Linked DNA regions of Homo sapiens: region 2 is linked to region 1. The links are contacts of gene promoters, found by promoter capture Hi-C in blood cells and fetal thymus (Javierre and others, 2016). All regions are on one chromosome and are shown on one strand. The core of a region is centred on a gene start or on the middle of the fragment in contact, and the rest is flanking DNA. Distances in the headings are between cores, read along the strand shown. Region 1 holds the start of TMPO (thymopoietin). Region 2 holds the start of METAP2 (methionyl aminopeptidase 2).

Region 1 (4,849 bases), core at 2,245-4,744:
TGAGGTCAGGAGTTCAAGACCAGCCTGGTCAACATGGTGAAACCCAGTCTCTACTAAAATACAAACAAATTAGATGAGTGTATTAGCAGGCGCCTGTAGTCCCAGCTACTCTGGAGGCTGGGGCAAGGAGAATTGCTTGAACCTGGGAGGCGGAGGTTGCAGTGAGCCGAGACTACGTCACTGCACTCCAGCCTAGTCTCTGTTGGACATTCTGACCACAGTCAGAATATTAAGACTTCTAAAAACTCTCATTTCCCTGTGAAATTTTCTGAATTAAAATTACTTTTATCTACCAATGACCTGGAACACCCCGAGCCCCCCAACCCCCACTTTTATTAATAGTTGTCCCGCCTTTCTGGAAGGGACCAATCTACATCTTACACATATTGATTTTAGAGACAGGGTCTCACTCTGTCACCCAGGCTGGAATGCAGTGACAGGATTATGGCTCACTGCAGCCTCAACCTCCCAGGCTCAAGTGATCCTCCCACCTCAGTCTCCCTAGTAGCTAGAACTACAGGTGGGCACCATGGCTAAATTTTGTATTTTTTTGTAGAGAGGGGGTTTTACTGTTTTGCCCAGGCTAGTCTTGAACTCCTAAGCTCAAGGGATCCGCCTGTCTCAGCCTCCCAAAGTGTTGGGATTACAGGCGTGAGCCACAGTGCTCAGCCTTTGTGTTTTTTGTGTCACATTGATCAAATATTTTAAAAATTATCTTTTATGTTGAAACAAGTATTAAGGAGATGATGGAAAGAGTCAATTCCTTGAGAAGGGTGAGAGCCAGAGTACAAGTGGTGGAATTTCCTTCTGACAGGACACATCTTTCACTGAAAAGAAAAATGCAAGAGAAAATGAATGCAAATTGGAAAGTCTGACGTTGAAGCATTCCTCATAGGTGGTTTTTATTTTTTGAAGTTGAGGCAAGGTCACCAGCTAAAAATGAGAGGTAGGGAAAAAGGATGTGAAATTTGAGGAGATGTGAACGTATGAATGGTTAACCCAGAGACTGGAATAGCATTGCCAGCCAGTGTTGAGTGCTCCTGAGAGGACTGAGGTCATGAATTAAAACCAGTTAGCTTGTTATATGACTGACTTTTCTCCAGCAGCTTTTGCTGTTTGGATGTAAGCAATGAGAAAGTTCAGCTGGAGCATGGTTTAGTCCAAGCAAGGCTGAGATTCTTTCAAGCAAAAAAGGAGACATTGAGATCAGAGAGTTGAAAATGTTTGTAAAAGAGTGATGAAAAGGACTGATCAGGGAATTTAAGTCAGGTGAGTTGCAAAATTATTACATGATGGCAGAAGCAGAAGAGTTGAGTTTTTTTAAGTGTTGGGGTTAATAGCGTGGAGGTCTTAATTAGGTAAGTGAGAGTACCATAAATTAGCTGGGAAAAAAAGGCTAGTGATTGACAATTGGGAAGCTTGAAACTGAGATTTCAACTGATGACAAGGTTCAGAATCTGACTGATACCGAAGTGGTTAAGACGCAAGAGAGGAACAAATTGTTGGAGATGAAGAGGTCAGAGGTCTAAGAGGCCAAGTGTTGGTGTTGCATGGGTCACCTACAAGCATGCTGAATTCAGATAGAATGTAGACAAGAGGGATGGTGAGGAAAACCTACGGCAAGCAGCTCTATAATTTCTGGAAAGTGACCAGGAGGCTCGTGGATGATGGCAGGAAGGAGAGTAGAAAGTGATTTAGCCAGAAGATATGAACTTCAAATATTTTTGAAGCAGAAAAGAGCAGAAATGGTTTGGAAGTAGCAATCAGGACCAAAGAGACCACCCAAACTCAATAGCCCAACCTCTTAGCCTTAGGGTACGCAGAATCTGAAAAGTGTAATCTCAATTTTGGAGCTCTACAGCAGTAAATCTGCAAGTAACCACCTGTAGCTAATGTCCAGGGATTAAAAAAAAGATAATGAAAATGTTTTTGCCCAGGAAACATTAATTTCAGGCGTATCTAGAATGCAGTTCTTGCATTATACGTACTGGGTTACCAGTCATTGCAAAGTCATGGTCCTTTGCCTCTCAGCTCAGTTCCCCTTCTGAAGATAAAAACATTTGCCTATGTGTCCAGGGAAGCTGTGAGGACAAAAAACCAAGCAACTTTTACAAGGGATCATAAAAACCTACCTAACAACTTGCTAATTAAAACCTGATTTTTAATTTGCATTATTGAGCTTAATACCATTGCTTAAATGTATGTGAATACTGAGATTTTTATAAAGGAATTAGTTACCTCTAGGAAAATAATTATCACTAAAAGAAATAATATCGCAATTTGAATAAAAGTAAGTCGCTTAAATCATAGGAAACATTTTTAGTGAAGGCGTTTGTTTTAAATGTATTCTAACCTAGCAATGTAGAAAGCAGGCAAACATTTAAAAAAAATTTAACCAGTTTCTAAAACATAGTTTGGAGCTCAGATTCTGGGGAAATGATTAACACACCCTACATCCAAGGTCTCCTTTCCTTTCTAGAAAGAAAGCATCTTTAAACATACATATTCATCAGAAATACAAATATTTGTCATCAGTGATACTAATTTCCAGGCAAACATTTTAATTGCAGTCAATGTATTAGATTCTACCAGGTTTTAATTTGGATCGGTAATACGGGTTTGATTAGGGTTCTAGGCCTAATTATAGGTCACTAGTCTTCCTTTAGGATTATGCACCATCTGTTATTTTAAATTGACCATTGAGGGGGTTCCCAAGGGTTCTCCTTCGTTTTGTTATCAAACGTTAGGTTTAGGATTCTTGCGGGTGGTGGGATCCAAAGCCAGAGACGGTTTCAACAAAAATGCAAGCGCGAATTTGTCTTGCGTCTGAACGCACTGTTCAAATTAAACAATTTAGACATGCCCCAACTATGACACTAAGAAGTGAATGGTATAGTACACTTTTGTCACAAATTCAAGGGTAATTTAAGTGCCCGATTGTAGAGGTCTGGCTTCCCCTGGGTTTCTGGAACAAAAGAAGCGTTCGCGAGGAGAGGGGTAACTCCCCGCCCTCCCCCTCCCAAAGTAAATCAAATCAAGGAATATGAGTGCCTGCAGACAAGCCTCGCTTCTTTTCTTCCCCTTCAGGGCTAGCGTTTGGGGAAGGCAAGGCTGCGGCTACTCTTGGAGCTTCAGTGTCCCGGGAGGAAGAAAGGCCCAGCCAAGGGTCCTCACACTGGCGTGGAATTCGGCGCGTTCGTAGGCGATCGACCCCAGAGACGAAAGCTGCTTCTCAAGCTGGGGGAGGGAGAGGAAACGGCGCACAAAAGCAGTACGACCTGTCCCTTATCGGCGTCTAAGGGGAAGGGTGGAGAAAACGAAAACAGAAGCGGGCCGGGAGCCTCGGCTCCCGCCCCAGCGCCTTTTAAACTGCGTTTCTACCTCCTCTCGCTCAGCGCGGCGGCTAATGGAACCCGCGCGAGCCGTCTCGCCAATCACCGCCGCGCTTCCTCCCGTCGCCCGCCAATGGCGGCGCGCGTTCTTGGGGCGTGGGCGAAGCAGGCTGCTCGCCTCCTGCCTGTAGTGTGTGGGCTGGGGTTGGTGCGAGCTTCCAGCTTGGCCGCAGTTGGTTCGTAGTTCGGCTCTGGGGTCTTTTGTGTCCGGGTCTGGCTTGGCTTTGTGTCCGCGAGTTTTTGTTCCGCTCCGCAGCGCTCTTCCCGGGCAGGAGCCGTGAGGCTCGGAGGCGGCAGCGCGGTCCCCGGCCAGGAGCAAGCGCGCCGGCGTGAGCGGCGGCGGCAAAGGCTGTGGGGAGGGGGCTTCGCAGATCCCCGAGATGCCGGAGTTCCTGGAAGACCCCTCGGTCCTGACAAAAGACAAGTTGAAGAGTGAGTTGGTCGCCAACAATGTGACGCTGCCGGCCGGGGAGCAGCGCAAAGACGTGTACGTCCAGCTCTACCTGCAGCACCTCACGGCTCGCAACCGGCCGCCGCTCCCCGCCGGCACCAACAGCAAGGGGCCCCCGGACTTCTCCAGTGACGAAGAGCGCGAGCCCACCCCGGTCCTCGGCTCTGGGGCCGCCGCCGCGGGCCGGAGCCGAGCAGCCGTCGGCAGGGTAAGGACGCGGGGCCGGGGCTACAAAGGCGGGCGTTTGGCGGTTGCCGCGCGCGCTCGCCGCCGTTTGCAGCCCCTCCCTCCCGGGCGCCCCCTCGGGCCTCCCAGGTGCGGGGCTGTCCCTGCGCCCCCTCGCGTCGCCCCTTCCCCGCGGGGCTGCAGGCGCCGGAGCGGAGAGGCCAGAAGTTGGGGCCGCGGGGTTCGCGTTCTTTGACGTGTGGGTCTGGGAGGTGTGGAGTTGCGTTGGCGGCGGTTGTTTTGCACGCAGTCGACGCCGCTTCCCTGGACCACCAGCCGCCTGCAGCGGGCGTTTAGACGGGGACTTCCGTGCCCTTTCGAAAGCTCTGGAGGGGTGGCCCCAAAATGCTATAGGTTAAGTTCGAGCGTTTTCCCGCTTTATTAACTGAAATGACTCGCAGCAGAGTCTCAGAGCGCTCCCTGGAGGGCAACTGATGACACTCTAATTTCTAACCAAAATTTGAAATGAGGAAATTCCCGCCTTTTTATACTTTTGCGTGTGGAGGGCTTTTTGAACCGTTTATGTTTTCTAGTTTGTTTTAATTTTTCCCAGCAACAGGCCATCTTTTGGCGGAACAGGTTCATGCCGAATTAAAAGGAGCATTTTAAACTATATTTTTAGGCGCCTATTATAATTTTTTAGTTTTTATTTATTTATTTTTTTAGATGGAGTGTCGCACTTGTTGCCCAGGCTGGAGTGCAATGGCGAGATCTCGGCTCACCGCAACCTCCACCTCCCGGGTTCAAGCGATTCTCCTGCCTCAGCCTCCCGAGTAGCTGG
Region 2 (5,146 bases), core at 2,213-4,712, 3.0 Mb before region 1:
AATCTATTCATTTTTTTGGTCATACCCATCATCATTCCCTTTCAAGCCACTATAACCTATTGACTGTAATAGCCTCTAAACTGATCTCCCTGCTTTCATTCTGGCCACCCTCAACTCTACTCTGTACACTGCAGCCATGGTGATCTTTTCAAAAATCTAATCATGTTAATTGCAACTCTCATCAGGTTAACTGTCTCCTCACCATTAAAATACTTAAGGGGGCTGGACACAGTGGCTCATGCCTATAATCCCAGCACTTTGGGAGGCTGAGGAGGGCGGATCACCTGAGGCCAGGAGTTTGAGACCAGCCTGGCCAACATGGTGAAACCCCGTCTCTACTAAAAATACAAAAATTAACTGGGTGTGGTGGCGCGTACCTGTAGTCCCAGCTACTCGGGAGGCTGAGGTGGAAGAATTGCTTGAATCCGGGAGGCGGAGGTTGCAGTGAGCCGAGATCATACCACTGCACTCCAGCCTGGGCGACAGAGCAAGACTCCATCTCAGAAAAAAATAAAAAATAAAAATAAAATACTTAAGGGAGGTAGGTGGATCACCTGAAGTCAGGAGTTTGAGACCAGCCTGACCAACATGGTGAAACCCTGTCTCTACCAAAATATACAAAAATTAGCTGGGTGTGGTGGCATGTGCCTGTAGTCCCAGCTACTTGGGAGACTGAGGTGGGATAATTGCTTGAACCCAGGAGGTAGAGGTTGCAGTGAGCTGACATCACGCCACTGCATTCCAGCCTGAGCAACAGAATGAGACCCTGTCTGAAAAATAAATAAAAAAAGTAAAATAAAATACTTAAGAGTTTTATATTGTTCTTAGGACAAAGTATAAAGCCCTTAGTATGATCTAAAAGGCTCTGTCAGCTCTCCTACCCTTTCCTTCCTGCAAGGCTCTTACCTTTCTAGTCTCATCTCATCACACTCACTCCCTTCTCCACCTCTTTGCATTCCAGCCATTCTGGATGTTTTTTAGTTCTTTAAATGTGTTATACTCCCTACTGTTTTACAGATGAGAAAATCAAGGCTCAAAAATATATGGGCTGTCCAGAGTCACAAAATTATAGCCAAATGACCATTCTAGTATTAGAATCCATGTCTCCTCTTAAATACCTCTTAAATTTTTCTTTACCTTCCCTTTGCCAAGAATACTCTGCCAGGCGCAATGGCTCATGCCTGTAATCCCAACACTTTGGGAGGTTGAGGCAGGTGGATCACCTGAGGTCAGGAGTTTGAGACCAGCCTGGCCAACATGGTAAAACCCCGTCTCTACAAAAATTAGCTGGGTGTGGTGGTGGGCGCCTGTAATCCCAGCTACTTGGGAGGCTGAGGTAGGAGAATCGCTTGAACCTGGGAGGCGGAGGTTGCAGTGAGCTAAGATCAGGCCACTGCACTCCAACCTGGGTGATAGAACGAGACTCCGTCTCAAAAAAAAAAAAATACTCTCTCTAAACCTTTCCCCTCCCCTTTGCCTATTTATCCTTCAGATCTCAGCCTAATTGCTACTTCCTCAGGAAACTCTACCAGGCCATCCTACCTAGGCAAGTCCCTTTGTAATATGCTCTCATAGCAGCAGTTGTAAATTTGCTTTTATTAGCATCATTGCTTGATGTCTATTTTTGTTAACTGGCTCTATGATGACAAGGATCATCTCTGTTTTTGCTCTCTAAATATTGCCAGATCTAGGTTTATAGTAGGCATTGAACGAATGGATGGATGAGTGAATAAGTGAATATGTCAGCCAAGCAAAGAGCAGCCCAGATAAAAGTAACAGTGAGTTTGAAATGCTCCAAGGTCAGAAAGAGCTTTGAGAGCTGGAGCTATAATAGTAAGAGAGTGGAGACATTGGAGAAGTAGATATGGCTGGGTCTTGCCGGGCATTTTAAAGGATTTTGGACACATGGAAGCTACTTCTATTTTTATTTTTGTGGTATTATGTTTGGTTTACCAACTTTTTATTTTTTATTTTATTTACTTTTTTGGGGGGGATGGAGTCTCGCTCTGTCGCCCAGGCTGGAGTGCAGTGGCGCAATCTCAGCTCACTGCAACCTCCCCCGGGGTTCAAGCGATTGTCCTGCCTCAGCCTCCCTAGTAGCTGGGACTACAGGCGCCTGCCACCACGCCCGGCTAATTTTTGTATTTTTAGTGGAGACGGGGTTTCACCATATTGGCCAGGCTGGTCTCGAACTCCTGACCTTGTGATCTGCCCACCTCGCCCTCCCAAAGTGCTGGGATTACAGGCGTGAGCCACAGCGCCCGGCCGGTTTACCAACTTTTATATTGCCAGCAATCAACTAGGGAAAACAATTTAAAATCTAAATAGGGATAGATTTAAAGAGATAAAGATCTGTACAAGAATAAGAGGAACAGTTTTTATTACTATTGGATAGGTGCTGCCTGAAGCTTTAAGACAGAGAATGTACATTTATGCAGCTGCAGTCAGAGCCTGTGTGAGGTTTACTGTAAACTCACTGGCAATAAGGCTCTTAACGACATTTTGATGCCCATGAAGCTTGGTGCCTAGTTTAAAACTAATGAAAACACCTAAACTCTCCAGGTGGACAAAGCCATATTCAGGAGAAATTGAGAAGGAGTTGGTGCAGGCAGCCAATCACAATCCACTTACGCCACAAACTAAATCTCAAACTGCGGTTTGAACATGAGGCTCAAAACATAAGAAGTAAAGAAATGGGCAAAATTCAATTAGTTTCTGGTGAAACGTCCTAAATCCAAAAGAAAGGTGACCAGAAATAGAGAAAACGGAGTGTGATCTTTTGCATTAATGAGAGAGACCGTGTCCCCGTGTGTTAAAACCTGTCATTCTTGTCCTGAATTGGAAAGTGAGCGGAGTGTGACGGGTTCCCATCTTGAACCGTCCGGGGTTGAGTAGTACAATAAACTAACACGGAACTCCAGCTTCCAAAATTCTCTCCAGTGCCTACAGAGCCTCGCGGAGAGCTGTGATTGTGAATGTCAACGCAGATTTGATTAAATCTCTTAGATTTAAGAGATATGTGGAGTCATGACAATAGAAATGTGTACAAGTGAACACATTTCTTAGCCCGTTTCCCCACTGCCTGTGTGATTTATAAAAACGCAAATATAAAATATTTCCGTTCCAGCAGAGACGCCGCTTGCTACGGCGGGTTGCCCGTCTCCACAGGTATCTCCGGCTGACTCTAGAGCTCAACTTCCCCTTTAAACTTCACCCTGCGCTTGCCGATTTGCTTCGGGAATGCCCGAGGCACCGGACGAAGCAGTCGGGTCTGGCCCCAGTCGACTCCAGCCAGGCGGGGCTCCAAGCCGAGACTCCTGCACGCCCGGCCCGAAGCTAGCCCGACACCCTCAGCTGAGTCCTCCGCCGTCCCAGCATTCCCTGCGTCCCTACCATCGAGAGCAGCTTCCGGCGTGGCTGGTGTAGGCGGGTGGAGAAGGATCGGGGCCCTCGCCGCTCTGTCTCATTCCCTCGCGCTCTCTCGGGCAACATGGCGGGTGTGGAGGAGGTAGCGGCCTCCGGGAGCCACCTGAATGGCGACCTGGATCCAGACGACAGGGAAGAAGGAGCTGCCTCTACGGCTGAGGAAGCAGCCAAGAAAAAAAGACGAAAGAAGAAGAAGAGCAAAGGGCCTTCTGCAGGTAAAGAGAGTTTTATGTTTTCCCAGTCCCCTCCGGGAACGGCTGAACTGTTTGGCTCAGGCCCGTTGAGGGGGCCGGGACCGGGGCCCCAGAGCCCCGACTAGACTGATTCTTGGGCCTGACAGGGTGGCAAAGCCGGGCTATAGATTCCTAGTCTGAGAAGAGGCGTCATCTCCTCCTGTGGGACTAGAGGGCTGGTGGGGGAGAAAAGAGTGCCTGAGGTTGGCGTGTGGTACCTCTGGGGTCGCTGGGCCCGAGCCCCTGTATTACCAGAACTCAGCTCCCACGCACATCGTGGCACGGTCTTGAGATTGTGCGCAGAGCACAGCCCTACCATCTTTCGCGCGATTTGGCCGCCGCCTCAAAAATCCGATTCTGATCCGTATTGCCGCGTCTTTGCTGGTTTGCTGGAGCAAGCTAGGACTTATTTTCTTTGGGGGTGGGCAAATGTAATGGAGAGCACACCTCCTCCCACTATCCCGTTTCACGTTGGGGTTGTTGCAGCCTGCACTTTTGGGGTGTGTGTACATGTGTGTTTGCCCGCGCGCTCATGTCATTAATTGCAGAATTTGTGGTGGTGATAACGAATTTTCACCTGCCTAATCCCATAGCATCGCCAAGCTTTAGGGCCTTTAGACCTGAATTATGATACCAATTGCAGGCAGTGCAGATAGGATATTCTGTGGCTCAGAATGGAACTTCTGAGGTCTTAACCTCTAAATCCACTGGTAAGGCAAGGAGAACTGCTGAGAGTTTACAGTTGGATATTATGAACTAGGAACTTACATATTTTGAGAAGTCTGTGTTTTTGCTGCACAAGCTCCTTCACCTTAATAAAAATTATTTTTACTTGTTTCTAATTAAAATCGCCAGAGAAACAGAAAATGGAGAAGTCAGAAGCGATTAAGATGGAATTGAGAGAGGTCGAAGAGAGCTAATCTTCATCTTTCTGAAATTTTGATTAGATAGGAATGGAAGGAGAGTTGTAGCGTTGCTGGAACTCTTCCAGAGCAAAATTTGTTACTCTGGTGGCTGTTCCTGGATTTCGAGTGAAATTCAAACACTGCTGTTTGTCTTGTAAGGTGTTAAGCTGACTGATCCTAATGTATTTTTAACAGTTGTATTTCTTAATATGAATTCTCTCCAGTAGCCAGAATGTCACTTCATTTCGTGCTACCTGATACTATTAATGCATGTAACATATTGCTCTTATAGGTAGGTTATAATCACTTCCAGAGCAGGGGCCTGGTCTTGTGCTTAGATATTTGAGCGTTTTAGTTTTTTAGTAATGGACTGTCTTTGCCTATTTATTTTGACTTTACCCAGCCCATCGTGATATCCTTATTCATGAAACCAGGCTGCCCCGGGGTGTTGCACATGAATCTTTTTCCTAAGGCCTTCAGCATTTATTACCTATCTGGTGTTTAAGTATTTGTTAAGTCTAATTGCTGACCACTATTACAAGTTAAACTACTTGAGGATAGAGACCAGTTCACGCTGTTTAT

The links. Contacts are between HindIII fragments. The CHiCAGO score rates a contact against its expected background, and 5 or more counts as called.
Region 2: a contact is called between the fragment with the promoter of METAP2 here and the fragment with the promoter of TMPO in region 1, in 3 of 17 cell types (activated CD4 T cells, non-activated CD4 T cells and naive CD8 T cells). The highest score is 8.5, in activated CD4 T cells.

What each region holds. Positions count from the first base shown.
Region 1 is chr12:98,512,096-98,516,944 of GRCh38, forward strand. It overlaps TMPO (thymopoietin), which reads left to right and starts at 3,495. Exons shown (of 9, transcript NM_001032283.3): 1 at 3,495-4,051. The coding sequence starts at 3,773. It overlaps TMPO-AS1 (TMPO antisense RNA 1), which reads right to left and starts at 4,131. Exons shown (of 2, transcript NR_027157.1): 1 at 3,896-4,131; 2 at 878-3,802. RefSeq lists enhancers at 3,115-3,194, 3,455-3,644 and a silencer at 3,985-4,254. The HindIII fragment of the contact is 4,246 bases long and covers 1,417-4,849 here.
Region 2 is chr12:95,470,690-95,475,835 of GRCh38, forward strand. METAP2 (methionyl aminopeptidase 2) reads left to right here and starts at 3,463. Exons shown (of 11, transcript NM_006838.4): 1 at 3,463-3,641. The coding sequence starts at 3,491. RefSeq lists an enhancer at 3,280-3,679. The HindIII fragment of the contact is 1,745 bases long and covers 2,516-4,260 here.